Linked DNA regions of Homo sapiens: all the other regions are linked to region 1. Evidence: promoter capture Hi-C in 16 types of primary human blood cells and fetal thymus (Javierre and others, 2016). All regions are on one chromosome and are shown on one strand. The core of a region is centred on a gene start or on the middle of the fragment in contact, and the rest is flanking DNA. Distances in the headings are between cores, read along the strand shown. Region 1 holds the start of CASC11 (cancer susceptibility 11). Region 2 overlaps CCDC26 (CCDC26 long non-coding RNA). Region 3 overlaps CCDC26 (CCDC26 long non-coding RNA). Region 4 overlaps CCDC26 (CCDC26 long non-coding RNA). Region 5 overlaps CCDC26 (CCDC26 long non-coding RNA). Region 6 overlaps CCDC26 (CCDC26 long non-coding RNA). Region 7 overlaps CCDC26 (CCDC26 long non-coding RNA).

Evidence for each region. The method cuts DNA at HindIII sites, captures the fragments that hold promoters and counts their contacts. A CHiCAGO score of 5 or more calls a contact.
Region 2: a fragment that was not itself captured here is called in contact with the fragment with the promoter of CASC11 in region 1 in 1 of 17 cell types (neutrophils); the score reaches 7.8 in neutrophils.
Region 3: a fragment that was not itself captured here is called in contact with the fragment with the promoter of CASC11 in region 1 in 1 of 17 cell types (neutrophils); the score reaches 5.4 in neutrophils.
Region 4: a contact is called between a fragment that was not itself captured here and the fragment with the promoter of CASC11 in region 1, in 4 of 17 cell types (monocytes, megakaryocytes, erythroblasts and 1 more). The highest score is 7.8, in monocytes.
Region 5: a fragment that was not itself captured here is called in contact with the fragment with the promoter of CASC11 in region 1 in 8 of 17 cell types (erythroblasts, monocytes, megakaryocytes and 5 more); the score reaches 17.4 in erythroblasts.
Region 6: a contact is called between a fragment that was not itself captured here and the fragment with the promoter of CASC11 in region 1, in 1 of 17 cell types (monocytes). The highest score is 5.3, in monocytes.
Region 7: a contact is called between a fragment that was not itself captured here and the fragment with the promoter of CASC11 in region 1, in 1 of 17 cell types (neutrophils). The highest score is 5.8, in neutrophils.

Annotation. Positions count from the first base shown.
Region 1 is chr8:127,732,139-127,735,267 of GRCh38, forward strand. It overlaps CASC11 (cancer susceptibility 11), which reads right to left and starts at 1,829. Exons shown (of 4, transcript NR_117102.1): 1 at 1,687-1,829. RefSeq lists an enhancer at 498-999, a cis regulatory region at 579-3,129 and a silencer at 1,904-2,023. The HindIII fragment of the contact is 10,989 bases long and covers 1,607-3,129 here.
Region 2 is chr8:129,524,875-129,527,955 of GRCh38, forward strand. The region is part of intron 1 of CCDC26 (CCDC26 long non-coding RNA); the gene reads right to left. Among named protein-coding and RNA genes, the nearest start is that of MIR3686, 42 kb to the left of the region's middle. The HindIII fragment of the contact is 4,183 bases long and covers 1-3,081 here.
Region 3 is chr8:129,467,533-129,470,763 of GRCh38, forward strand. All of the region lies in intron 2 of CCDC26 (CCDC26 long non-coding RNA), which reads right to left. Among named protein-coding and RNA genes, the nearest start is that of MIR3686, 15 kb to the right of the region's middle. The HindIII fragment of the contact is 7,441 bases long and covers 1-3,231 here.
Region 4 is chr8:129,563,080-129,566,227 of GRCh38, forward strand. The region is part of intron 1 of CCDC26 (CCDC26 long non-coding RNA); the gene reads right to left. Among named protein-coding and RNA genes, the nearest start is that of MIR3686, 81 kb to the left of the region's middle. The HindIII fragment of the contact is 487 bases long and covers 1,162-1,648 here.
Region 5 is chr8:129,542,425-129,545,455 of GRCh38, forward strand. The region is part of intron 1 of CCDC26 (CCDC26 long non-coding RNA); the gene reads right to left. Among named protein-coding and RNA genes, the nearest start is that of MIR3686, 60 kb to the left of the region's middle. The HindIII fragment of the contact is 3,446 bases long and covers 1-3,031 here.
Region 6 is chr8:129,415,340-129,418,370 of GRCh38, forward strand. The region is part of intron 2 of CCDC26 (CCDC26 long non-coding RNA); the gene reads right to left. Among named protein-coding and RNA genes, the nearest start is that of MIR3686, 67 kb to the right of the region's middle. RefSeq lists a silencer at 384-678. The HindIII fragment of the contact is 2,911 bases long and covers 83-2,993 here.
Region 7 is chr8:129,385,905-129,389,154 of GRCh38, forward strand. The region is part of intron 2 of CCDC26 (CCDC26 long non-coding RNA); the gene reads right to left. Among named protein-coding and RNA genes, the nearest start is that of MIR3686, 97 kb to the right of the region's middle. The HindIII fragment of the contact is 4,270 bases long and covers 1-3,250 here.

The sequences.
Region 1 (3,129 bases), core at 579-3,078:
GAGGTCGAGGCTGCAGTGAGTCATGATTATTCCACTGCCTTCCAGCCTAGACTACAGGGTGAGACCCTGTCTTAAAAAAAAAATTAAAGAAGAAAAAACTCTCTTTTCTTTTCTTTCTTTCTTCTTCTTCTTTTCTTTTTTTTTTTTTCTTTTTTTTTTTTTAGAGATGGCACGTCACCACATTGCCCAGGCTGTTGTCGAACTCCTGGCCTCAAACGATGCTCCCACTTGAGCCTCCCAAAGTGCTGGGACTACAAGCATAAGCCACCACACACGGCCTTTTCCTTTCTTTTTCTATTTCTCAATGGATTTTTCCAATGGACACGTATCACTTTGGTAGTTATACATGATACTAGTTGTAATCTCAGCCATTTTTCAACCCAGCAAATGTCTATTCTAGGTCAAATATGTCTCAAAAATTACTAAAAGAAAATCAGTTATGTCCTTTAACCTGGCTGAGGTCTGGCTTTGTTTTCTCTCATGTAAAAATGGAGATGGCACAAAACAACTCCAAGCTGTTACTTGAAAGTAACACCTCAGGTGATGTCACCAGCCTGAGGGAGAGTGAGGTTAAGTTCTGAACCCACAGGCATTATATCTGCCTGGGGTTCACATGCCCTACACTGGACTGGCATAATTTGAGAGTCAGATCCGAAGATGTGGTATATCCGCCATCTTTAGCAACTTTCAAAAACTACCCTATGAGGTCAAGCTGGACCTACTTTTGGTTTTGCCATTGTTGTTTGTTTGTTGTTGAGGGTTTTCTTTGAGGGGCGGGGAGTGCATGCCCCTGTGGAGAGCACTCATTTAGCTTCAATTAGAGTAATGCCAAAAGTGCCAGATTCCTGGGAAATCAGCCTACAAGGCTCCTGCGGGAAGGAACCTCCACTGCCAGAAGTCCTTAGGGCATCTAAGTGATCAGACACCGTCAGGGATTCTTTGCCCCGTAAAAACCTACTTGACCAGGGACACGTGCCAGGTAAATTTCCTTCACATTTACTTCAACCTTATTGCATACTCATTTTAGTATTAAAACCTTTAATAAAATGCTCCTATTCCTTCACACTTTTTTTCTATGAGATCTCAAATACCCCTTCTTGCTATTAAAAAAAATCACTTATTATTCACCAGCCCAATATTTTAAAAGTAAAAATAATAAGCCAAGGCCAGGAGCGATGACTCGCACTTGTATTCCCAGCAGTTTCAGAGGCAAAGGCCGAAGGATCGCTTTAACCGAGGAGTTTGAGACCAGCCTGGGCAACATGACCAGACTGCCTCTCTACAAAAAGTTTAAAAAATTAACCGGGTGTGGTGGTGCACTGCACTCCCAGCTACTGGGCTGGGGTATCAGGCTGAGGTAGGAGGTTTGCTTTGAGCCCGGGGGGATCGAGGCTGCAGTGAGCTTTGATTGTGCCACTGCACTCCAGCCTGGGTGACAGAAGGAGACCCTGTCTCAAAAATAATAAGAATAATAATTAATAATAATAGGCCAAACCAAATACCCATCACCTTCTGCTGTGCCTCCCCTTTCCCCAATAAATCCAGTGTCTTGCTTTCAAATTTTGTGGTTAAAAAAGATGATGAGTTTCTAAGACGTGGGGGCTAAAGCTTGTTTGGCCGTTTTAGGGTTTGTTGGAATTTTTTTTTCGTCTATGTACTTGTGAATTATTTCACGTTTGCCATTACCGGTTCTCCATAGGGTGATGTTCATTAGCAGTGGTGATAGGTTAATTTTCACCATCTCTTATGCGGTTGAATAGTCACCTCTGAACCACTTTTTCCTCCAGTAACTCCTCTTTCTTCGGACCTTCTGCAGCCAACCTGAAAGAATAACAAGGAGGTGGCTGGAAACTTGTTTTAAGGAACCGCCTGTCCTTCCCCCGCTGGAAACCTTGCACCTCGGACGCTCCTGCTCCTGCCCCCACCTGACCCCCGCCCTCGTTGACATCCAGGCGCGATGATCTCTGCTGCCAGTAGAGGGCACACTTACTTTACTTTCGCAAACCTGAACGCGGGTGCTGCCCAGAGAGGGGGCGGAGGGAAAGACGCTTTGCAGCAAAATCCAGCATAGCGATTGGTTGCTCCCCGCGTTTGCGGCAAAGGCCTGGAGGCAGGAGTAATTTGCAATCCTTAAAGCTGAATTGTGCAGTGCATCGGATTTGGAAGCTACTATATTCACTTAACACTTGAACGCTGAGCTGCAAACTCAACGGGTAATAACCCATCTTGAACAGCGTACATGCTATACACGCACCCCTTTCCCCCGAATTGTTTTCTCTTTTGGAGGTGGTGGAGGGAGAGAAAAGTTTACTTAAAATGCCTTTGGGTGAGGGACCAAGGATGAGAAGAATGTTTTTTGTTTTTCATGCCGTGGAATAACACAAAATAAAAAATCCCGAGGGAATATACATTATATATTAAATATAGATCATTTCAGGGAGCAAACAAATCATGTGTGGGGCTGGGCAACTAGCTAAGTCGAAGCGTAAATAAAATGTGAATACACGTTTGCGGGTTACATACAGTGCACTTTCACTAGTATTCAGAAAAAATTGTGAGTCAGTGAACTAGGAAATTAATGCCTGGAAGGCAGCCAAATTTTAATTAGCTCAAGACTCCCCCCCCCCCAAAAAAAGGCACGGAAGTAATACTCCTCTCCTCTTCTTTGATCAGAATCGATGCATTTTTTGTGCATGACCGCATTTCCAATAATAAAAGGGGAAAGAGGACCTGGAAAGGAATTAAACGTCCGGTTTGTCCGGGGAGGAAAGAGTTAACGGTTTTTTTCACAAGGGTCTCTGCTGACTCCCCCGGCTCGGTCCACAAGCTCTCCACTTGCCCCTTTTAGGAAGTCCGGTCCCGCGGTTCGGGTACCCCCTGCCCCTCCCATATTCTCCCGTCTAGCACCTTTGATTTCTCCCAAACCCGGCAGCCCGAGACTGTTGCAAACCGGCGCCACAGGGCGCAAAGGGGATTTGTCTCTTCTGAAACCTGGCTGAGAAATTGGGAACTCCGTGTGGGAGGCGTGGGGGTGGGACGGTGGGGTACAGACTGGCAGAGAGCAGGCAACCTCCCTCTCGCCCTAGCCCAGCTCTGGAACAGGCAGACACATCTCAGGGCTAAACAGAC
Region 2 (3,081 bases), core at 483-2,982, 1.8 Mb after region 1:
GGGAACCCTCATATACTGTTGGTGGGAATGTAGACTAGTACAACCACCATGGAAAACCATTTAGAGGTTCCTTAAAAAACTTAAAATAGAGCTACCGTATGATCCAGCAATCTCACTCCTGGGCTTATATCCAAAAGAAAGAACATCAACATATCAAAGAGATATCTGCATTCTCATAGTTGTTGCAGTACTGTCCACAATATCCAAAATTTGGAAGCAACCTAAGTGCCCATCAACAGATAAGTGGACAAAGAAAAATGTTCTACTTATACACAATGGAGTACTATTCAGCCATAAAAAAATGAGATCCTATCATTTGTACAAACATGGATAGAACCAGTGTTCATTATGTTAAGTGAAATAAACCAGGCACAGAAAGACAAATATCACATGTTCTCACTTATCTATAGGAGTTAAAATTTAAAATTTAAAACTGAAGTCCTGGAGATAGAGTGTAGAAGAATGGTTACCAGAGGCTGAGAAGAGTAGTTAGGGGACAGGGGGAAGTGGGGATGGTTAGTATGTACAAAAAAAAAGAAAGAATGAAGAAGACCTGGTATTTGATAGCACACCAGGGTTACTATAGTCAATAATAATTTAATTGTACATTTAAAAATAACTAAGAGTATAATTGGATTGTTTTAACACAAAGGATAAATGCTTGAGGCAATAGATACCCTATTTTATCCAATGTATCAAAACATCTAATGTACCCCATAAATATATATACCTACTATATGCTCACAAAAAATAAAATTAAAAGGTTTAAAAAATATTAAAATAAATTTTTTTGAATATGCATTTGGTGTGGATTTATGAGAGACAGACTGAGATGTGTAATAGCATTAGAATTTATCATGAATGCCTGGAGGAATTTTGAGAGAGGAGTGACCCTACAAAGTCAGGCATTAGAAACTCTGTAAAGTATAACGATAGTTAGCCAGTATAGTGTGGACTCTGACTACAAGAATTTGAATAGTGACTGGGGTAGACAACCTCTATGATAGCCCCAGTGAGCCCCACCTTTTGGAATTTATGCCTTTGTCCTCTCCTTCCATCAAATAGAATGCAGCGAAGATGATAGGATGTCACTAGTGACATTAGGTTACAAAAGATTATGGCTTCTATCTTAGGTGTTATCTCTCTTTCTTTTTCTCTCTCTCACCTCTACTCCTCATGTGTGCATCTGCACATCATAGTTTCTATTACTCCTACTATCTTTTGCTCACTCTCTCTCAGATCACTAGTCCTGGGGAAAATTAAGTGCAATCTCATGAGACTACACTGTAGAGATAGCCACGTGTTCAGGAACCAAGGCCTGCTAAAAACCACATGAGAGAGATTAGAATTGAATTCCCCAACTCCCACAGTCTAGCTTCCAGATGAAACTGCAGCCCAGCACAATAGCTTGACTGCCACTGATGAGAGACCTTGAACCAAAAGCACCAGACAAGCTGTGCCCAGATTCTTTACCCACACATGTAGTGTGATTATTAGTGTTTGCTGTTTTAAGCTGCTAGATTTGGGGTAATTTGTCATGTAGTCATGTCGAAGTAATATATCTGCTATTCCATATTAGCCAGGTGGCCTTGGCCAAATTATTTAACTTTCTGGGCTTCAGTTTTGTCATCTGTAAAATAAGTCCTTAAAAATATCTAACTTATAAGATTACCATGAATTATAAATGAGATAATACATTTAAACTATTAGAGTAGTCCAGAGAACACATAAGTCTTCACTAAATGTTAGCTATTGCCTTTATAATAAATATTATAACAGATATTGGCATTGGTAGATAAGGTCACAACTAAGATGGGAGCTTACTTGGGAACTGAAGAGTTGCACATGTAAAAGAATACCTAACTAAAAATGCTTTAAGCCATAAAGTAAATTGTCAAGTTAACAAAACTGAGATCCAGAGAGGGAACTTAAGGACGATTATTAAGGCCTCTAAATCATTTTCTCTGCAATTTTCCTGACTCCTCCCTCTCTTGTCTTTCAGCTTGGTCCTTAGACTGGCTTCCAACACACAGTCAAGCAAACCACAGTAATCTTAGTCTTCATGCACTCATAACACAAATCCAACAGAGCTTCTCTTTGCCCAGGGAATCCAGTGTTTCACAGTGAGTGGGCCAACTTAGGTTGTAAAGCTATACATGGAAGGTTACACATGGACCTATCAGTTTGACCATGAGAAAGTACATCATTACCTGGATTAAATGTATTTCCTGCAATCAATCACAATGTGAAGATGTTAAGGATATGGTATTATATCCCATGAGGTATCATTGTTGGAAATGTGAGTGTGGCCAGTCTCATTGTAACACATGGTTACTGCTAATGGAGGAAACATAGAATGGGTTACTATGGAGGAAATAATAATGTCACACACAGGAAGGTATTTCAGTAGTCCAACTATGAGCTCAGATGATTTGCACTAGGGAAATCAGTAGCAATGGGGACAAAATAATCAATATGGTAAGTGTCACAGTTGAGAAGAAACGTTATAGAAAATATGGGTAAGTGTCAGACTTGAGAAGGAAGATTATAGAAACACAATAGAATTTGGTACCCAAATGAATGGAGTAGCTGAGGGAGAAAAGAGATTTGAAGAGTTCTAAGACCAGGAAAATGACAAGGAATTACACTTATCGAGCTAAAAGTCTCAGAAGGACAAGCAGCTTAAAATAGATGAAGAGTAATGTCACCAAGATGGAAAAATAGGAGTTCTCTGGCTGGGCACTGTGGTTCATGCCTGTAATCCCAGCACTTTGGGATGCCTAGGTGGGCGAATCACTTGAGGTCGGGGTTTGAGACCATCCTGGCCAACATGGTGAAACTTCATCTCTACTAAAAATACAAAAACTAGCTGAGCATGGTGGCAGGTGCCTGTAATCCCAGCTACTTGGGAGGCTGAGGCAAGAGAATTGCTTAAACTCAGGAGGTGGAGGTTGCAGTGAGCCAAGATTGTGCAAGTACACTCCACCCTGGGTGACAAAGCAAGACTCCATCTCAAAAAAAAAAAAGAATGGGAGTTCTCTGGCTTCATTTCCTCATATAGAAGTTCAACTAACAACTATC
Region 3 (3,231 bases), core at 87-2,586, 1.7 Mb after region 1:
ATTTAATAAATATCTTATTAAGTGCCTACTTGAATTTTGCTTTTAATATCAGCAGTCAAAAATAGAGCCAGTGGTCAATCTGTGTTTGAGGCACTGACCATCTGCTTGGCTCTCTTAAGTTGTATAATTATTTGTTTGCAACATTTTGAATTATAGTAAGCACAAGAAATATGGGGGATTTGTTGGCACCAAGGTAATGGTGATACTGGAAAGTTGAATAACTTCTTCCAGCTTCCTTTAATTTTTGTCAGAATTCAATTCCCAATATCCCCCAGAAGTCCGTAATGATAACAAGTATTGGGAACTGATTAATAAAAGCAGAATTGTCTCAGTCATTGTATCAAACCCCATTTCTTGCAGTGAGGATAGATCTGCCTAAGGGGGCAGTTGCAGGGGAAAGAGGAGCCCCCATTTAGCACTAGAAAATTGAGATCCCATTTTCTAGTGCCAGAAAAATCTGAGGCCCTACAGAGTAGGCAGGAATGCCTTGTCTTCATATACTCCTCACCTCAAGTCATAGTTATCTCTGTCATCTTTTTCCAATTCACAGTTCAAAATCAGTCATTTATTTATTCATCGAATTTTGGGGGTAGGATCTAATATATGTCAAGCACTGTTCGAGTTGCTGGGAACATTGCAGTGAACAGAAGAGAGCAACTCCCACCTCCATGGATCTCATGTTCTCCTCTCATCCCTGGGAAGCCTTGGATGCCCTGCCTCTCCATTGAAAGCCCATGCCTCCATCCAAGGTACCCTGTGGCACTACGTGACTCACTTTAGACAGCCCTTTACGTGTTTTATGTTTGTTTGTTTTGCCTTTTTTTCTTTTTCTGAGACAGGGTCTCACTCTGTTGCCCAGACTAGAGTTCAGTGGGACAATCTTGGCTCACTGCAACCTCTGCCTCCCAGGCTCAAGCAATTCTCCTGCCTCAGCCTCCCAAGTAACTGGGATTATAGGCGCACACCACTACCTGGCTAATTTTTGTGTTTTTAGTAGAGACTGCATTTCACCATGTTGACCAGGCTGGTCTTCAACTCCTGATCTCAAATAATCCACCCTTTGGCCTCTCAAAGTGCTGGGATTATAGGCATGAGTCACCGTGACCGGCCTCATGTTGTATTTTCATTAGGCGTGCAATGTCCATCTTCCCTTCTAAACTTGGAGCTCCTCAAGGACAATTAGCAAGATTAGTTTTCTCCATGTCATCTATGCCTAACATAAAATCTATCATGTAATAAGCACTCAGTCATTGCCTTAACTGTCTTCTTTATTTGTCTGATTTCAACTCTGCCTGCTGTGATAAGGTAAGTGTTAATTGTCCCTATTTAAAAGTGAGAAAAGTGAAACTTGAAGGTTTTAGTATCTTGTTCAAGAATACACAGCTTCTAAGACAGAAAGCCAGCAAATAGACCTAGCATGGCCAAATTCCCATCCTATGGTAAAGCATAGTCCCAGAGCAATCTTCAACAATTCTTGTGTTCAGCAAACACTTATCAAGATATGCCTTATAGAATTTTGAGCTTGGGGAGCTTATAAGAAAAGAAACCCATAATATCCCTTTCTTCCTGATCAGTTACTACATCCAGAATGTTAACTTACACCTCCCTCATACATTCAACTCTCTGGGCACAGCTATTCACTGACAGAGAAAGATTGATAAGATACATCCAAAAGATAAAAAAGGCTTCAATTGGCTGTCAGAACTTTAATTAAAACACTTATAGATCAACTTCACTCCAGCAAATTGTCTGTGCCACTATTACTATAGTAAGATGAATGTTCACTGGGAAAACAGAGTACTCTGCCCTGGACTAATGTGTAATTTCATAGCCATTGATTTTTTTACTTTAAAAATTCTTCCCTGACTATTGGGAATTGGAACTTGTTCTGGGTGACCTGGCAGCAATGTTACATTTTTTTCTTTTATGAATGCGGAAGACCATTTCCTAAGCCCATTCATATTTTATCTTCATTGCCCTGACTCAAAACTAAACTGAAGTTGTATGAGATTGTTGAGGACCTCAGATGGAAGTTTCTGAGGACAAAGGATGGAAAGAGGAATTTGAGCAGCTAAAGGGAAACAGATGAGGAAAAGGAAAGGCCAGAGGAAGAAAATGAATAAGAAATGGGAAAGATAGGCTGGGCGCGGTGGCACACACCTGTAATCCCAGCACTTTGGGAGGTCAAGGCAGGCAGATCACAAGATCAGGAGTTCAAGACCAGCCTGGCCAATATGGTGAAACCCCATCTCTACTAAAAATACAAAAATTAGCTGGGCATCGTGGCGTTCACCTGTAGTCCCAGATACTCGGGAGGCTGAAGCAGAAGCATCACTTGAACGAGGGAGGCAGAGATTGCAGTGAGCTGAGATTGCACTACTGCACTCCAGCCTGGGTGACAGAGCGAGACTCTCTCTCTCAAAAAAAAAGGAATGGCCAAGATAACTGGAAAAGAGAGGTTGAGTATTTTTAATAAGGTTGTCATTAAAGTCTGAAAATAGACTTATTTAAATGACAATTTCAAGTAAAAATTATTACAAATTCATTAGGAAAGAATATTTTTAAAAATAATTCATCTAATTTACTAAGTAAACTTTTATAGAATGCCTCCTATGTACCAGGCACTAAGTTCATAGTATAAATTAGAAGTTAACTTTTACCCAGAAATTCATGGTACAAAAAAAAACTGTTTTTAAAATATTTGTCTAGTTTCTCCAAATATAGACATGGCTATATAGTCAGCTATATCTATTTCTTTTGTATCTGTGTATCCATACATACAGATATATGGACATAATTATACATAACAATAGAAGTTTAGGATTAAACATGGAATTTCAGAGAGAGAGAGAGAATCCTTCTTTTCTGTAGTTCATAAGAGCTTAAATACAGTACCTAACCACTGCCTCCCTGCATGATTTATCCTGGAACAACCCAAATAATAATACTATATCTCATTGTGCCTGAGATTCTATCAATTTTTAAGTGCTTTCCAATTTCAGAAATGTTAATACGAAAAAATGGGCAAAGATAAACCATTATAGAAATGATAAAATGAGGAAAAAAATGTATCTTAGAATTGATGATATACAATAATAATCTTTATGATTTTCTGAATGCCTAATATGTTTCAGGTACTGTTCAAAGTGTTTTACATGTGTCATTGAAACATTGCAGATACTCTGCCTGGCAAGTCATATCATGGTCCCTATCTCACAGGTGAAAAAACTG
Region 4 (3,148 bases), core at 155-2,654, 1.8 Mb after region 1:
TTAAGGTAGCCAATATTGCATAGAAATAAAATGTTTATGGGTTTAGCAAAGTTACAATTGACTTTCTCTTTGACCCATTAATTCTATTTCTAGAAATCTACCCTACAGAAACATTTGCAAAAGCATGAGATGACAAATGTGTAAGGTCATTCATTATAGCATTATTCATAAATCAAAACATTAAAAACAACTCAAGTGTTCAGCAATGGGGAACAGTTAAATAAACTGACACACAATGGAGTAACATGCAGCTATTCAAAAGAATGGGGACAGTATCTATGTAGTAATATGGAAAATTCATCTGAGTGTATTGCAAAGTGAAAACAGGAAAGCGTAGAAGAGTTATAATATGCTACCTTTTGTGTAAGGGAAGAAAATATGAACCTCTATATGTTTCATATATCTGCAAAAACAGGAGGACGAAAAACACAGAGAATGTAAACAAAAAACTAATAAAAGTAGTTACCTTATAGGAAATGCATTGGGAATATATGTAAGGGAAAGAGAAACAAAACTTCTTTGTGTATACCTTTCTATACCATCATGCCCTTTGAATAATGTGGGTTCATTATTCATTAAAAGTAAAGCTAATTTTTAAAAATATTTCTAAAATTAAAAATAAACCAAGACAAATAAATATAACCATATATCAATTTAGAAATATTATCACACAGAGAAACAATTATTTTTTCCCCAAGATGTTTGAGAACACAGCACTTTGTACATTCTTAGTGGGATACACTTCATGGACAAAAGAACTACATCAAATTTTAAACTAAATCTGACTATTTTATGTTCACATTCATATTGTTATTTTGAAACTATTCTCTTTGTATCATTCAAGAAAGCAAATGAGGAATTCTATTAATGGTGTTCTAAGAGAACAAAAGCCAATCATGAAATCAAAAATTAAGCATAAAACTAATGTTAAAATTGAAGTGATGACAGTTAAATGAACTTTCTGTTTTATTAATTACATATTTTCTGTCTTAATTCATTGAAATGGCCTAGCCACCATGTCATCCAGTATCAATAACCACACCTGGCACCAGATTTTGCTTTGTAAAATCAAGAGTTCTTGTAGAACTGGCTGCTTTCAGGACTGAATTAGGGAAGGTACAAAATACGCCTAGAACATATTGTTATGTTCAAAGGCAAAGAAGCTTTCAAAGAGTAATTGGGCATATCAAAAGAACACAAGAACCAGGTGGAAGGAGCTCTTGCTGACCCAAATTGTGATGATTGAAACACTAAAAAGAGTAGTGATTATAGCAAATTAAAATATACTGAATACACTAGAGCCACGAGTCCATAATGACTCAAAAAAGAGAAAGCCAGAAACAAAACCTCATTTGTCACCATTTGGAATGATTCTTAAAAACAATTTCTCCCTTTCCGAATTGGGAATTAAAAAGAAGTAGTTAAGTGTTTATTTTGCCTTTTCAGTAAAAACTCTATTTCAGGGCAAATAGACCCATTTATCACAGAAAGTTCTGTTTTATGTCAAGCAGTAAAGATAAAAGGAATATTAGAATTATGAAGTCGACAATTTACCACTCCCAATGAGAATCTTGTTTCAAGCATAGAAGGCTGTGCTGTTCCCACAAAAGAGTAAATAATTAAGTGCAGTCTGGGGAGGATCCGAGGAAGCTTCCAAGGAGAGGCAGTTTGGGCTGAGGCTTGAATGATGAACAGAATCAGCCACAACATGAATACAGGAGGACTTGTCAGATGGAGGGACATTATGGGGGGCCTGAAAAAGCTTGAGGAACTGCACTTACATTGGAAGGGATTGTTATCCACTTAAGATACCCAGAGTCAGCACAAAAACTGAAAATTGCAAAGAGTCAAATGTATCCTTACAAAGTCCCATTTTGGAAGGAGCTTTCTTGTAGCCCAATACACTGTCTCTCAGTAAGCCCATCACAGCCAGTTTCTCCACAGAGTTGTGATCAGATCACTATTTGAGAAATATGAAGCAGTTAACAATTGGAGGTGATGTTGTTCAAAGACAGCATGCTCTGAGATGCTCCCACTCTGGGGGGCATGTGGGGACTGACACCAATGAAGCGAAGAACAAGAGTCATAGCTGTCCTCTCTGGCTTCCTAGGGGCATATGGCACGATGAGTGGACCAGCTGCCCACGTTGACATTGCTCAGAGTGTTCATTGTTCTCTTGCTCTCCGTATCCCCATCCCCTCTTAGTTTAAGTTGAAAACATCCAGGTAGTCAGCCACTATTGCTGAGTATACATGATGCAAAGGTGCATGGAAAGGGACTGGAGGGACCAGGTCTGAGGGCCCTCTGGGAAGTAAAGAGAGAAGTGGGAAGGAGTCACATTAGGACGGGACTATTTTGCTAAATTAGCTAGTGTAGGCTTTGAAATAAAGGGAAGCCAATGGATGGAGTTTCAAGCAAGGTATGGCATGATAGGACCTGTGTTTTGGAAAGATTACCCTGGATTTATTGTGAAGAATGGCCTGGCGGCTGTGGGGATTCCAGGAAGGGGGAGAATGCAGACAAGCAAGGAGACTACAGGCATTATTGTCTTTACATCTGGCTTCTTTTTCAGGTCCTCCTTGAGAGGCCAAGCATCACATGAATTGGACATGAAGGCAAAATTTTTGATCTGAAGGGGGAAAGGATGCCATGTTTAGAACTCTGCACACAAAGGAGAGGCTATTTAGGGATCTAGATTCTCCAACCACAGAAAGTTGGCGGGTGAGAAGTGGCTGCTTCCCACTGAACTCCCCAGGGCAAATGAAGGGACCCACATGGCGTTTCTTCCCAACAACTTACCACAGACGTGGAAATTATAAATGGGGCCAGGAAGTGGTCATTTCATGTCAACCCACCTACCATACATTCAAAATAGCTGCCACTTGCCCAAAGACACCTCCAAATTCTAAACAGTCTGCCTAGCACATATCCATGTATACAACAAACCTTATTGAGCATCTACTATGGTAGGGACTGCACTATAGTTTAGTTAATAAAAGTTAGAAATTAGGCCAGGCACGGTGGCTTACGCCTGTAATCCCAGCACTTTGGGAGGCCGAGGCAGGAGGATCACGAGGTCAGGAGATCGAGACCACCCTGGTTAACACGGTGAAACCCCATCTCTACTAAAAATACAAAAAAAAATTAG
Region 5 (3,031 bases), core at 363-2,862, 1.8 Mb after region 1:
CAAAGGGGGTCATTGGAGACATAATGGGTTGCTCAGCAAGATAAGATATGTCCCGCTGCATAACGTATGTCCCTGAAAACATGAAGGCCTGAAGTTGAGAACAGTGTTTTGTTGACACTATGTGAACAGTTTCTAAAAGGAAAATGTTTTTGAGATTTTCACTGCACAAGATATCTGAGCCTAACTAAAAGACTCAATTGAATAGATAGAATAGGTTGTAATGTCAGTCATTTTAAAGAGTGAGGGGAATAGATCTCACCAAGTTTATATCTTGTCATATGATTTGGCTTTCATGGCCTAAATACAAATCAAGATGTACTAGATTCTAAAGCCATTTAATCTTGCCCAAGTATGTAAAGGGACGAGATTGGGAAAGCAAAGCATTCACAATATTTCAGCAGGAATCATTAGATATCTTGGACACTTTACACAAAACACAATCCTAATGAGTGAATCATGAATTAGTAGACCCTGAGAGCGAGGACTTCTCCTACCCCAATGTCAAGACAATTTAAACTTCATGCAGAACGTGTCTGGCTACAAGAGTTCCGGCTTTTGCCAAACCTCATAGAATGAATTGGAACCATTTTACAGACCTCTACATTCTTATAGGGCTCCCCACCCTGAGCTCCGGTCCCTCTAATGCTGTGTTTCTGTGTGGATGATAGCTCTTGGGGCCTCGGGTTTGATTCAGTGCATGCCAGGACTTGGAGACATTTTAAACAAGTTAGAATCCATGTGTTGCCTTCAATTAAAGGTTTTGTAAGGCAAAGGGACACCAACTCAGCCACCAAATATTTGGGTCTGGGGAAGTTTCTTCAACCTTTCTGACAGGCCAAGTGTGATGTGGCAAGCCTGGCTCCTGTCAAAAGCAATGAATGAGACAGAAATGAACATTGTGAAAATTAGGCTTGTCACCAACCTAAGCCACTGAACATTCAAATGCGTGGCATGCAAAGTGTGGTTTGAACATCATAGCCTGGAAAGCAATAAGAATTCTTGGTAGGATTTGGGTAATTATGAGAAATGCTTGAAAAAAAATCAACCTCAATGTAAAAATGAATAATTAGAAAAATATCAATGGTCAGATAGAGGGTAGGAATCGGTAAAGAATATACAATTTCTATGTAGACTCAATATTGGTTTGCTTACCAAATTCATTCATTCTGTGAGTATTTACCCAGCCTGAACTTTGAGTGTATTTGGAAGTATTATGGAGGCTATAAAAGACTTAGATGTAAAGAAAGGTTTGAGTGAAGAGAGTGCACCAAAAACTCTAATACTAGTGAAAAGTCATAAATTTCCCAAAAATATCTATTTTCAAAGTCATCATTGGGTAAAGAGTATGGGGCTTGGGAAGTCCAGTATCTGACAGTCTTGGCTCTCCTATTTACGTAATACGTAACCTTGGATATTATGGTAAAGACTGACATGCAGTGCCTGGCATATTGCAGATATTCAATACGTTCTCAATGAATGGATGAATGAATTAGCAATGCTTCTTTTTTATTAGACAGAGTCTTACTCTGTCATCCAGGCTGGAGTGCAGTGGCATGATCACCACTCACCACAGCCTCAACTTCCTGGGCTCAGATGATCCTCCCACCTCAGCCTCTCAAGTAGCTGGGACTACAGATGCATGCCACCACACCAGGCTAATTTTTGTATTTTTGGTAGAGATGGGGTTTCTCCATGTTGCTCAGGCTGGTCTTGAATTCCTGGGCTCAAGCAATCCTCCTGCCATGGCCTCCCAAAGTGCTGGGATTACAGCAGCCATTGCACCCAGCCATGAGTGCTTCTTATGGGCCACACAATGTGCTAAGTGTATGCACATTCTCTCATGAATTATAAACACCCTATGAGGCAGCTACTACTATTGTTCCTATTTTACAAATAAGAAAATTAGAGTTTAGAGAGTTTACGTACCTTGCATAGGGTTGCACAGCTAGTGAGTAAGCAAGCCAAAACTCAAATCCAGCCTTTTTCATTCCAAAAACAGAATCTCAAATCTCTGTCTTAGAATAAATTGTTCTTATATGGAATAGGAATAGAAAAAAATCCCAGGAGAAACTGAGAAAATCAGTTTTACCTGAATCACCATCAAGCCTACCAGTTTCTACTCAACTGAGCTAGTTCACACAAGGTAAACAGCTACATGGACCTCTGAAGTTGACTTTATGGTGAGAAAGCATCCTTAGTCCTTATTAGAGGCTATGAGACAGGGACTGAGCAAGTAGCTTTCATACTTATTACCATAGTGAACCCTCCCCACAACCCAGGAAAGCAGGCATTGGTGCTCCTGTTTTACAGAAGCAGTAGAGACACAGTTTGAGCCCAGGCTTATCGAGATTATATCATAATACAAGTTCCATCCAACCCCAGGTAAAAATTAAAGGACTTGCTGGCCCAGATGATACTTTGCTCTCTTCTTGTTGAAGATCATGACCTTTTAGGGAAAGGAACATTTGCAAAGTGTGGACCTGCTATCAAAATGATACTGGTAACTGGGCTTTGCAGTGAAGATCACTGCTAATCATGTCAGAAAAAATGGGTTCCTGGAAGGGAAAGTCACCATCTCATCAATGACAAGGACAACAGCTGGGCAGGCAAACTGATGAACTAGACTTCAAATCAAAATTTTAGAAAAAGAAGGCCGGGCACAGTGGCTCATGCTTGTAATCCCAGCAGTTTGGGAGGCCGAGGTGGGTGGATCACTTGAGGTCAGGAGTTTGAAACCAGCCTGGCCAACATGGCGGAACCCCATCTCTACTAAAAATACAAAAATTAGCCAGCATGGTGGCAGGTGCCTGTAATCCCAGCTACTTGGGAGGCTGAGGCAGAAGAATTGCCTGAACCTGGGAGGCAGAGGCTGCATTGAGGCAAGATCGCACCACTGCACTCCAGCCTCAGTGACAGAGCAAGACTCCATCTCAATAATAATAATAATAATAATAATAATAATAATAACATTTTAAAAGAAGGGGCAAAAGTGATCCTGTACAACTGAAAACTAGAAAGAATTAAAATCATG
Region 6 (3,031 bases), core at 288-2,787, 1.7 Mb after region 1:
ATCATTAATTAATTAACCCTCTCTAGGGAGAGGGTAATCGAGCCTTCTGTACCCATGCCAGACTTCTTTCATAGCTCCCCAAAGCTTAATGTAGGGAAACAGAGAGAGCCAATAAACCATTACGGAGCCGGCCTCCATTTGGTGTGGAGTACAAATGATTGATTGATCTTTCGAGACTGTGCTAAGAGAGGCAGTATGAACAATTGCATCTCAGTACAGTGCACGGTAGGAAGGAAGAACTGATCCTTCAGCTCTGTGTTCCACAGAGCCTCAGAGTCAAAAGGGAACTCATGCAGGAGGCAAGAGGAACGGAGGTGAAGCATGAGCTGAGGTGCTGTTGAATTGTGCTGTGTGAAGTTGGTAGGAATCCACACAGAACTGGTTACCACAGCTGTGGTGTGGTTGAAATTAGTAACGAATGTCTCAAGACAAGCGAAGGTGAGAGGATCTTAAGTGGTTTGTTTAGAGGGATTCAGCACTGGTGAGAAAGTTTGGCTAATCTAAGCAGTTTAGGTCAGTTTAGCCACAGGTTGGTGTGCAGTTGTAGTCATGTGTAGTGACTGTTAAAATGACAGTGCTCAGGAGCTGCTTGTCTTTTAGGCTTCCTGTCTCAAACCTAAGGCAGTGCCGACTACTCATGGCTGGTTTGTTATTCTCTGCCCTCTCTTTCATCATTCCAGCTGGCCAGGTGGGTATTTGGATTCAGGGATTTTCATGGGGCCTGACTTTTTCCCTTTCTCTGTAGACACCTTATGAATGTCCCTTATAGTTGGATTGCGTGTGTGAGCACAGTGAGTGGATGGACTAGCAGGAGTATATGATACCATGTCAGCCCTGATTCTAAGTCATCTACTCCATTCCAGCTTTGACCAGAGGACCCTCCACTGAAGGTAATATAGCACTTATTCAGCTATGTTCAGTAATATTTCAATTACTATTTGGTCCTCATGCAGAATCTTATGGGTGAAATGATCATTGGTTCACATGATTTGGAAATAGCTGGGTCACTGACCATAATAGGACTGAAAGCTCACTCTCAAACTGTATTACAAATATGTAATAGCATCTACTATGTTTCCAGGAATGATGCTGGATGCCAATGATTTAATAAAAACCAGAGTTCTTCTTCTTAATGAAATTAGAAAGTAAGAAAGACATGAAAATAGATAATCAAAATTTGGAATTTGGTTGTTCTATTATAAGGGAGTATGAAGATTTGCAGAAACACAGAAAACAATTCAGTTTTCCTGGAAGAATCAAAGATGGTATCAAAGAGGCAACATTTGAACTGAGTCATAAAGGATGAGTTCTAATAACAGCTTTATTGTAGAACACTCTAGAAAACATAAAGTATTTCCAGATCCATCCTCTTAGCATGTAAGCAACTTAAAAGCAAAGACTGGTTTATCCTAGTCATGACTATATTTCCAAAGTATCTCTGTAATACTGAACCCATTATCAATCTTGATTCTCGTAGCCTCCTATGCACTGGGGAGATGGCAGAAGGGAAACATTCCAGACAGAGAAAATGAATGAACAAAGACAGAAAATTCATAACTCATGATCTCATGGAATTTTGACCTGTAGATATTCCAAGAAGAATCTCAGTAAACTCTGCCAGTGGCTATACTGGAAACACTAAGGAAAAAGACAACCGTCTGTCCTATATAACATCTCACAGTGTCGCATTTAGTACCTTAGTGAATTCATCAGGGCTCACAATCTGGTCCACATCTTTGTAGATTAATTTTTTAAAATGTTTATAGAAATCCAATCACTCAGGGCTGTAATTATCCTAGCCTGTGAGACTTGTAGAATGATAACTGATTAATTTGTAATGAGAAATTACCATTACAAAAACTATAGTATTAACTTTTCATGACCAGGCCATTCTACCTTTACCAATTTAGTAAATTACAGTTACAAATAATTGTCATGGTGACCAGAACATTCATATCTTCATCATAAGACTGTTTTCTCCCTGTGTGAGAGCAGAAATCGTAACAAGCAGACAGTTTAGTAAGCATAGAATCAGATGTAAAAGAGTTAAAGAGTTGAATGCTTAATAAATGTCAATTAAGATAGTCTGATGGCTTTTCCTTTCCATTGGGACAGTTGTACCCATGATATTGGAATATACAACATACTTTACCACCCTACCAATGGCCCCATATGAGGAGTTAGAGTAATCTAAGACTATTAACTAAGGCACTATCTCCTGGACAGTACTTCTTCCTCGTTTCCAATGTTCATTCAAACAAATTGCAATCACATTTTGCAAAACTGGAGGTCATTATATTCCTTCATGATGACTGTGGCAACACTGTTTGAGAACCTACTATGGGCTAAACATCTGCATTATCTCATTTAACCACAATCATGTGCAATATTATTTGTGCAGAAGAGTAAATCGTTCTTAGATCCATTAAATGACTTGCTCCAATAGAAACAGCATTAGATGGTAAAGTGAGGATTCTATCTAAGCCATTTGAAGTCCACTCAAGACTTCCACTAGACATTCATGTCCAAAGCCATTCACTTGCATAGAAAAGATATGCATACCTGACCAGATCACTAAAAAACATTAGGAAGCTATGATTGAATGGGTCAAATAGTACATACTGCAGGAGTTCAGAGAAGAGTGACATCATTGTGGGACAAGGTGGGAAATAGATAATATTTATTTGTGAAACATTTTCTTTCTTCTAGTGGTAGAACTTAAAAGGAAAATAAATGTAAGACATATCAGCCACCCTTCCCTCTTCCAACAACCATAGCAGAACTCTTTTTGCCTTAAGCCCAGATATATCACCTCAGAATCTTTCGAAAGACAGCAATCCACAACCATTAACAGTCAGTCACATTTAGCATACAACATAGAATCTATATGCACCATTTCTGAGTTGGAGGCTGAATCTACAAAGCACTAAAGGGGCTCAATGATTTTGTCTCTCTGGTAGAAAAATAATGATAAATTAAATGAAGTCAGGTAAAGCTTTTGTTTGATAAAATTTATGAGAACCCAATTTAA
Region 7 (3,250 bases), core at 535-3,034, 1.7 Mb after region 1:
AAGTGTTTGGACTTCAGGTGGAGACAATGGGATTCTGAAAGTTTCAGTTTCATATGCAAGAGACATCCCTTTGGCGGCACTGTAGACCAGGGAGAGACTGGAGCCAGATAGACCAATTAGCTGCCTATTGCAATAGTCCATATGAGAGATGATAGACCTTCAATATGCAGTAGTGGCAGGGAATGAAGAAGTCAGTACATAATGAGGAATATATGTGTTAATGAGGAATATATTTTTTAATAAGGAAAATGAATTGCTCCAATCTTTTCATTTTCCAGGTAACAAAAAATGGCCAGAGCAACCAACAAATATACCCAAAGGACCTACAGCTTGGACCCAGTCCTGTGAGTTTATTTCACTTTGTGTTTAGAACACGTGTGACGATCTCTTATGTTACAAGGATCAAGGAGATCCCCACAGAGCTAAGGACCTATTGGTTCTCATGCCAGGCAATAGTTAGACCACTAACAACTTGAAGCAAGGATTTTATATCATGACTTCCTTTCTCCTGCCTTGGCTCCAGACTATGGGTCAGCATGAGTTACACCATAAATGCTCAACAGATTCTTTGGTGCAATCACAACTGGCTTCACTGGGGATCTGCTCTGTCAGTCTTTGTCCCTAGAGTTGTGAACCTAGAGGGAAGTGGTCCCCAACCACAGCAATCACCGACAGCACCTGGGGAAAGTGTGCAGTGGGCCAAATTGCCACAGAGCAGAACACCTGTCACTAGACGTTGCTCTGAAGTGGAATGCTGTTCGGCATCCTCTTGACAAAGTCTCTCAGAGAGTCTTCTGCCTCTGTTATTTCTACTCAGGCTAGAGAGAACCTTTCTTGATATTCTTGCATGTAACCTCTTTAGACCGACAACACTCTTATTTTACCTGCAACTTGCAGCTCTTCAAAGAGATTTTACTTGTGATGTTTTGTCTGTTACATGGAGGAAATAGAGCACTGAAGGTCATTAGGACAGGACTTAGGCTTCCCATTAGCTGGGTCAATGGGAGAGCTAAAGCCTGGCGAGATTAAGAATGTATCTCAAAGGGAAGGTTATTGTTTGAATGTGTTCCTCCAGGCTCGTGTGTTAAAACTTGACCCTCAGTGCAAAGGTGTTGAGAAGTGGGGACTTTAAGTGGTGATTATGTCATGAAGGCTCTGCTCTCAAGAATGAATTAACGCCATTATTGTGGGAGTGGATTCATTATTGGGGGAATGGTTTTCTTATAAAAAGATGAATTTGATCCACTTTGTCTATCTCCCACTCTCTCTTTGCTCTTCCATTATGAGATGATAAAGCAAGAAGGCCCTTATCATATGCTGGCCTCTTAATCTTGGACTACCCAGCCTCCAGAACTGTGAGAAATAAATTGCTGTTCATTGTAAACTACCCAGTCTTCGGTTTCTGTTACAATAGCACAAAACAGACTAAGACATTGTTGAAACATTTACAACTCCTGCCAAGAATAGTTTGGTTCTGTCCAGCAACATTGAGAATGTACAACCTCTATAAACTGGTAACTCCATTTCCAAGAATGTATTCTTTAAAAAATTCTCAAGTCCACAAGGTACCAGATTATTTCTTGCAATTTTTTTCATAGTGAAAAAGACAGAAACAATATAACTGTCAATTACATGGGGGAATGAATTTAAAATATGTTATATCAATATGGTGGAATATTATGCAGCCATTAAAAGAACTAAAGCAGAATGTATATATCCATAAGGACAGAATTCAAGAAATGTAGGGCTGAAAATTGAAACAAATTTTGGAATGATTACAGGATATGATACATTTTTATAGCTTAAAACAAAGCTAATATTATATATCAGATTTGGCAAACTTTTCTATAAAGGACAAAGAGTAAATATTATAGGTTTAGTAGGCCACATACAGACTCTGTAGTATATTATTTGTGTTTGTTTGTTTTACAGCTCTTTAAAGTGTGACAACCATTCTTAGCTTGGAATCCTTACAAAAGCAAGTCATGAATTGGATTTGTCTCACAGGCCATAATCTGCTGATTCCTGCTACGTACTGGTTGATACACGTATTTGTACATAAAAGTATAAGAAAAGATAAAATATATACAGAGAAGACTATATATACTGTATACCTCTATATAGAGTTAATAGTACTTACCTCTGAGGAGACATGGAAGACAACAGGAATGGGATGTAGGACATACAGTCACATTTATTTCATTTATTAAAGATCTAAAGCAGATATGAAGAAAAACCATTACCAATTCAGTTTTAGATAATGGGTGCAAGATACTTTGTTTTTATTATTCTTCATGATTTTCTGCTTAAAAATATTTTCCAAATAAAAGAATGCATAAGAAAAAAGCAGTCATTCAAGTCTTTTGTTCAATATCACAGCTCCTGCTTTGCTCGGATGCACAATGTTACTCAGATAACTCATTCATTCTTTTTTGCATGCAGCAAATATTCACAGAACATATACCCTGAATCAGGAGCTCTGCCTTGTGCTGTGAGAAGTATCAGATTCAGTCAGACATGCAGATGTGGACCCAGCCCTCAAGAGGCTGAAAGTCAGAAGACTCACACCCCCGTAGCACCACACACAGCAAGCAATGACATTTGCCAAGAGAAATGCTCAGGCCACGTCCTGTGGGCACTCATTGCTGCATCATGAGAGGCCCAAACTTCCGCACCTGGGATGCTAGGCCTGGCATCAAAGATAATGGAAAGACTCTGCATAGGTATGAGCAAGAACATGGTATGAGCAGGGAGGTTCTTTGTTCGTTAAATTTTATTTTTAAGTAGTATATTTGTGAATAAGAGAAAAGAGAGACACAAAGCAGAAAGACAAGCCAGACATGCAGAGCTTTTGAGAAGGGTGGAGTACTGGCTGCCTTGGGGAGGCAGCTGGAGGCTCTGAACACCCATTCCCAATAGCTATTGCCAACTGAGGCAGCTGAGCAGGGGCCCAAACTGGGAGAAATCCCACTTAAAGAAAAAGAAGCCACGGGAAGGGGAGGACACAGCAGTTGCTGGATGGGGACTGAGGTGCGGGGTGTGAGTGATCAGAGCAAGCAGGAGGGTCCATGTGCAGACCCCGGGGCTAAGGCCTGCCTCATGGCAGCTACCATCAAAGCCAGGCTTTGATTGTTAAAAACAATTCACCTTTCGAGAAGAATTTACAGGAGCATGGAAAGCACAGGAACGTGCCAGTAGCTCACTGGGCAATGCCATTTGTACATCTAAATCCTCATTTGTGCAGCCCATT